Regions from separate parts of the Homo sapiens genome. Here region 1 is linked to region 2. Evidence: promoter capture Hi-C in 16 types of primary human blood cells and fetal thymus (Javierre and others, 2016). All regions are on one chromosome and are shown on one strand. Each heading gives the region's core, a stretch centred on a gene start or on the middle of the fragment in contact. The rest is flanking DNA. Distances are from core to core; before and after follow the strand shown.

Region 1 (2,960 bases), core at 47-2,546, 6.9 Mb after region 2:
AAAATTCAACTATACTTTTAAATAAATTATATTCTAATAATTATATTTGAACTAGTGTGTCCATATTCTGGGAATTCACTTTGAACACAATAATTAAAGTATACCAGGAGGGGTTTACCCAGGAAGAACACTGTATCTTTTCAAGTGATTCAGTACCAGTAAAGAGATGCACTACTGGACTGATAAGACAGTCTATCCTTGCAGTACAAATGGCGAGAGGAAGCATTTGGGCTTCAAAATACATTTTGGCATGCATTACAGACAGTATTTAATAATATCATTAGCAAATATTGGGGACTTTCACAAATTAAGTAGTTGTCTGAACAAAACTCAGAGCAACCATTACCAATACGCTGACTGTAAAGTCTACTATAATGAAGTTCCTAAACTAGATAAAAATTAATCCATCAACAATTTTTAACTGAGGCACTCTATGTATGAACCACAGCACTAACACAAGTACCAAAACCAACGAAACTTAGAATTCTTCTGAGCCTCAAGAAGCTTGCAAGGCTAGCCAAGTCATTATTAAATAGTATGAAATGTCCTGGTGTCAGAGACAAAAATTCTAAGGTTCTATGAAATACAGTATCACATTTTATCCTAAGTGAATATAACATACTGCACTTCGCTTAGACTTAATTTATTGGTAATGTCACAGATTGCTTTACAATTGTTATATTCAAGAACTCTAACTCAGATAGACTATACCCAATTAGTATAACAGTATGTTTCAAAAAAAAAAGAAGCTCGAATACCATAATTCCTTATTAACAAGTTTATAATATTCAAAACAACCGTTTAAAGTATTTTTAATGTGAGTTTTAAAACTGTGATTTCACAATGTAGGAAGGCAACTAATGTTAAATATCACTTACAAAGTATCCGGTCTTATGCCAAGTACTTTAATTAAGAACTAGCTCATTTACTTTTCACATTCTTAACCCTTTGAAGTTATCTCTTATTTTAGAAATGAAGAAATCAGGGGTAAAGCAAGGTCAAATAACTTGCCCCAAATCACCCAACTATTAAATCTCACAGCTGAGGTTACAATCCAGAATGATTTGACTTTATAGTCAACTCTCTTTTCACTACACATTGATGGATCCTTTAGGGATTACAATGACCATGTCCTCTATTTTATAATGAGCTTTATTAGGTAACTACACAATGAATCTCTCAAAGATTAAATTTAAAAAATAAGAATAAAAGCAAACACTGCCTTGGCATTAAACAAAAAAATTTTTGGTTGCCCAAACTTTATCTTTTTACATACTGTAATCTAATCCACAAACAGCTGCCCTTCAGCTGCAACCCAAACTGCCTCACAGTTCTCAAATTATTACTAAACTTTAATTCCTCATGAATTTTCTTCAAGCCTTCTTTGAACAATGAAATGTCTGTCACAACAGCAACTTTTTAAAACAATAGTATCACTATAAAATGACTGATTCAGATTAATTCCAAACTTCCTTATGATTTAGAAATACAGATCTCAAACAATCCCTCACTCTTTATTTTTGCAATCAGTTTTAAATGGCTGTGTATACTTTATTCCAAACTGAAGTACATTTTGTCAGGGCAAGCCGAAAACAGCATTTTCTGCACTATCTATATTAACCTGGAAATACCTATGGACATAGGTGCTTACTAAATTCTCAGTTAATATGGCATTTTAAATAGTAAACAGTTACCTGTGTGCCTCAGTAAAACTGGAGTAAGCCAAAATTATCAAATCAGATGTGTACCTAAGCTCTTCCACAACTCAACATTTTTGACACCAAGCAGAGAAACCACTATATATAGGAGCTCGACGAACTCAATTTAAAATACAACTATATATTTCCAGCACCACATCTGAGCAGGTTTTTAATGCACAAGTTAAACTCAAGTTTATTAAGGGCTCCCTTCACCTTCATCTAAAACACATATGCCTGTATATAAATTAAATCACTCACTAATTACATCTTTTACAGACCTGAAATTGTAGAAGTTATCCTTGTTAGGAAGTTTTCTAGTGAATCTATTTTATATAGATTTTTCACATGTGTGTTATAGTCAAGTTTCCAAACAGTTGCACAGAAGTCAAAAGCTTTACATCTTTCTATACTAATTCTCAAAACCGATCTGCTGAAAAAAATGGTGGAAATTAGTGCATTGATAATCTAATTAGTAGCCATTTTCAGGATTTAAGCTCTACTATATTGTATTATATTTTAGAAACTGTCTTGTAAAAGGACCTAGTTCACCCAAAACTAAGTCCCTGAACTTTCAGAATAAAATATTAAGTTATAAAAATGTACTCTTGTAGCTAAGTGAAAGCTGACCATTCAGTTTATAAAACAGTAATCTTACATCGTGATAAGCAAAATAAAACAAATTAGAAAATGCACTATGCTTTCACTCTAGCCGTTGTCAACAAGGAGCCCAGCTTTAACAAATTACTGTAGATAACAGTCATTACGTCAGGTACGACATAGGGTAAAAAACTGATCTCATACAGAATGTCTACAACAAGTTTTTTTGTTTACTTCCTAAGGTGTTTTATAGACCTCAGAAACTGATTCTGTACAGCTGAACCGGGTTACACTCCAAGCTACAGCCCGTGTGAAATATGACTTCGTCGGAATCAGTAGGCTCAATCCTGTTTACCGTGGAAGAGAAAAGAATCTTGTACGTAACTACTAAATCTTCAACGAGATAATGTCGAATAAACTCTAGTACTGTAAGTGATAGAGGAAACACTGGCTAGTAACGGGATTAGGTCATTAAAAATATCACCCGAGTTTCCCCAGTTCGGAAGGTGTAAACAAACCCATCTCCACTGCAGAAGGTAAACAATGAACCTGCAGCAGGGTGAGGGGGCGGTCTTTAGCCAACTACAGTCCCAGCGGCCCGGGAAAGGGAAGCAGAAGGGAAACAGCATAAACCAGACATTTAGCAGTAATGACCAGTTCTAG
Region 2 (2,976 bases), core at 465-2,964:
AAATCGCTTGAACCCGGGAGGCGGAGTTTGCAGTGAGTGGAGATCGCGCCACTGCACTCCAGCCTGGGCGACAAACTGAGGCTCCGTCTCAAAAACAAAACAAAACAAAAACACAAAATTAGCCGGGCATGGTGGCGCATGCCTGCCTCAGGAGGCTGAGGCAGGAGAATCGCTTGAACCCGGGAGGCGGAGATTTCGGTAAGCCGAGATCGCGGCATTGCACTCCAGCCTGGGCAACAAGAGCGAAACTCCGTCTCCACATAAATAAATAATCATTTTTGTAGGCAAATATAACAAATACAGCAAAACGTCATAGAATCTAGAAAGAGTATATATGCATATGTATCTATCACTTTTTCAACTTTTCTGTGTGTGAAAATTTTGGACACTGAAGTGAAAATAAACGCTTTCAAAGTCAGAATACAAAGAATTATCTATTGCAACTTCAACCCACCTGAAGCTTTGAGGCCTCTGATCAACTCACAAACCTACATTTCAAGCACTCGATGAAAAAGCCCTTTCTTAAGACGGCAAGACTTTGAGATTCATCAACTGATAAAATATAAAAGCGATACTAAAAATAATCTCTCACCTAATGTAAGTTCACCTAGAAAGTCATTTACCAGGAGGTTTCATGAGAAACTTAACTTAACTTTACTCAGTAAAAGAGCTTTTCCCTCTATTACCACTTCGCCTACGTTTTTCGTAATTCCCAACAGTAAGCTTTAACTGAAGAAGAAGAAAAAAAAAACATCCCCAGCAAGCAGATCCGGGCACCCCTCCCAGGTCCTAAAGCCTGCAAAAACCCAAAGAGTTCGTGGCGCTGGTGGCTCCAGCTGTTAGTTTCCCGGGCAGTCTCCGGGTTGGATTTGCACCCTGGGGTCTACACGGGTTAAAAACGCGGAAAAAAGGCGACGAAGAAATACAAACTGCCAGGGTGTCGAAATGAAAGGAGCGACTGTGAAAGGGGTAAGGAAAAATCCAAGCCATCTCTACGGGGAGGATCCAGAAAGCACCAGCCGCGCCAGGGGGTCAACCAACTCCGACACCGCTCGGCGTCAGCTGGGCGCCACCAGGCGCGGACTTCGGAGCGAGGGCAGGTGCGCGGGCCGGAAGCCTCGGGCGCTCACCTGGCACCTACCTGGAGCTCACCTGGCGCCCGGGCCCCGCGCCGCCGCCCCCCGCCCAGCCCGCCGCGCCCGCACCTCGCGGTCCTTGAGGCCCAGCAGGAGCACTTCCTCCATCAGGGTCAGCCGCGTTTCCTTGGAGTCGCCCTTGTCGTCGTCGTCCTGCTCGTCGCGGCGGCTCTGCGCGTCGTCCTCGCTGCTGCCGGCGCCGCCGCCCGCCGCCCGCTCCTTGTCGGCGGCGTTGCGGGAGGCCTCGGTGCGCCGCTGCACCAGGCCGGAGCTGCGCTGGGTCAGCGAGGTCATGGCTCCCGCCGAGGCGCCGAGCCGGGCCGAGAGGGTCGCAGGACCGACCGGGTCGCCCTCCTCCTCCCCGCGCGGCCTCCGATCCGGGTTTCCGTGTTAAATCCGGACGCCGGGGCGACGTCCGTCGGCAGCAGGGCCGGGGGCAGTCATGAGGAAACAGGTCAGGGCGAAGCGGGCTGGCCGGGCGTCGGCGGGGCAGGAGAGGAGCGCCTTCCTGCCTGTGGCCGCAGTCCCCGAAACACCCCGAGCTCCAAGGCGGAGGCGGCGGCGGCGCCTTTCCAATATGGCGGCCCCGGCTGACGTCACCGGAGGATGTGGCAGAGTCGGCGCGGGAGAGCTGGGCCGGGAGGCGCCGGAAGCGGCGGCCGGGGATCCGCTGCCACTGCAGCCTACACCCTTCCCGGCCCTCGGTGCTTGTCTTTTCTTTGGCGTTCCTGCGCCCCCTGACCCGCGGTCCTGCAGTCCTGCTCCCGTGACGTGCCCTCCCTCCTTCCGTTCCCCGTTTCCCCTTCACTACCCAGGGCTGGAGCCTGAACCTGGCGGGGCCCCCCGTGAATGGAAGAGCCTGGGCCACGCGAAGGTGGACCCCACTCAGCCTCCAGCCGTGCCCTCCACGCCCCAGACACCGCCGTCTTCGGAGGCGACTCCGCGGTCGTGTGGACGGGGTCCCATTTGGACTCCGGGGTCTGCAGGATCGGCAGGAAGGACTTTGCTCTCTGCTGCTGGGCGGGGAGGGGTACGCTATCTGCCGGGACTCCCTAACCCTTTAGAAGGAGCAAGTGCGTCCAAATGGTTTGAAAGTGGACCTTTATTGTTTTCCAGGAGTAAGAAGATAGAACAGTTGACCAGTTTTGTTTGTAAAACTTCTTTCCTTGCCTCGGACTTGTGCTATAAAGTGACCAGGGCGTAGTGAGTACAGTTAGTACCGCACACGTTAGCACGCTCGACCTTAACGATCTTTTTATAGAGACAATAAACCTGCAGCGTTTCATGCCACGTCTTTGTACGCATCGGATGTCTCTCCGTGTAGTTACTAGGTGAAATCCTCTTGGCGTGCGCAAATTAGGTTAAAAAAATAGCTGTCAAACCTGAGACAGGAGTTGGAGGAGTAGAGGGTGGCGCTTGTTAAGTGAAACATTTAACCAGGAATGGTATTGTGTGCCATCCTGTATTAAACAATGTATGGACAGAGTGGAACAACAGCAAAGCAAAAAATAAAAATTTTTTAAAAAAAGTGATCATGGGCTGTGGCTAAAGAGTGCTTTAGATGGATTCTTCTCTTCCACAAATCCATTATCCAGAACTGCTGCTGCCTACCATCCCATGCCCTGGAAAGTGACAGTGCTAAATGAAGGGAAGAGAGGGTCCAGGGGGCACACCAAGTAGACCTTCCCTTTTTCCCACCTGTCTTGGTGAAGGTCGATTTCACCTCAACCAATTTCTCCCATTCACACCCTCTTTTTTTTTTTTTTTTTTTTTTTTTTGAGACGGAGTCTTGCTCTGTTGCCCAGGCTGGGGTGCAGTGGCACAATCTCGGCTCACTGCA

What was found. The method cuts DNA at HindIII sites, captures the fragments that hold promoters and counts their contacts. A CHiCAGO score of 5 or more calls a contact.
Region 1: a contact is called between a fragment that was not itself captured here and the fragment with the promoter of GOLPH3 in region 2, in 1 of 17 cell types (fetal thymus). The highest score is 7.3, in fetal thymus.

The regions. Positions count from the first base shown.
Region 1 is chr5:39,070,613-39,073,572 of GRCh38, forward strand. The region is part of intron 2 of RICTOR (RPTOR independent companion of MTOR complex 2); the gene reads right to left. Among named protein-coding and RNA genes, the nearest start is that of RICTOR, 2.3 kb to the right of the region's middle. RefSeq lists an enhancer at 2,620-2,960. The HindIII fragment of the contact is 1,588 bases long and covers 503-2,090 here.
Region 2 is chr5:32,172,605-32,175,580 of GRCh38, forward strand. It overlaps GOLPH3 (golgi phosphoprotein 3), which reads right to left and starts at 1,715. Exons shown (of 4, transcript NM_022130.4): 1 at 1,206-1,715. The coding sequence starts at 1,430. RefSeq lists a silencer at 999-1,608. The HindIII fragment of the contact is 5,568 bases long and covers 722-2,976 here.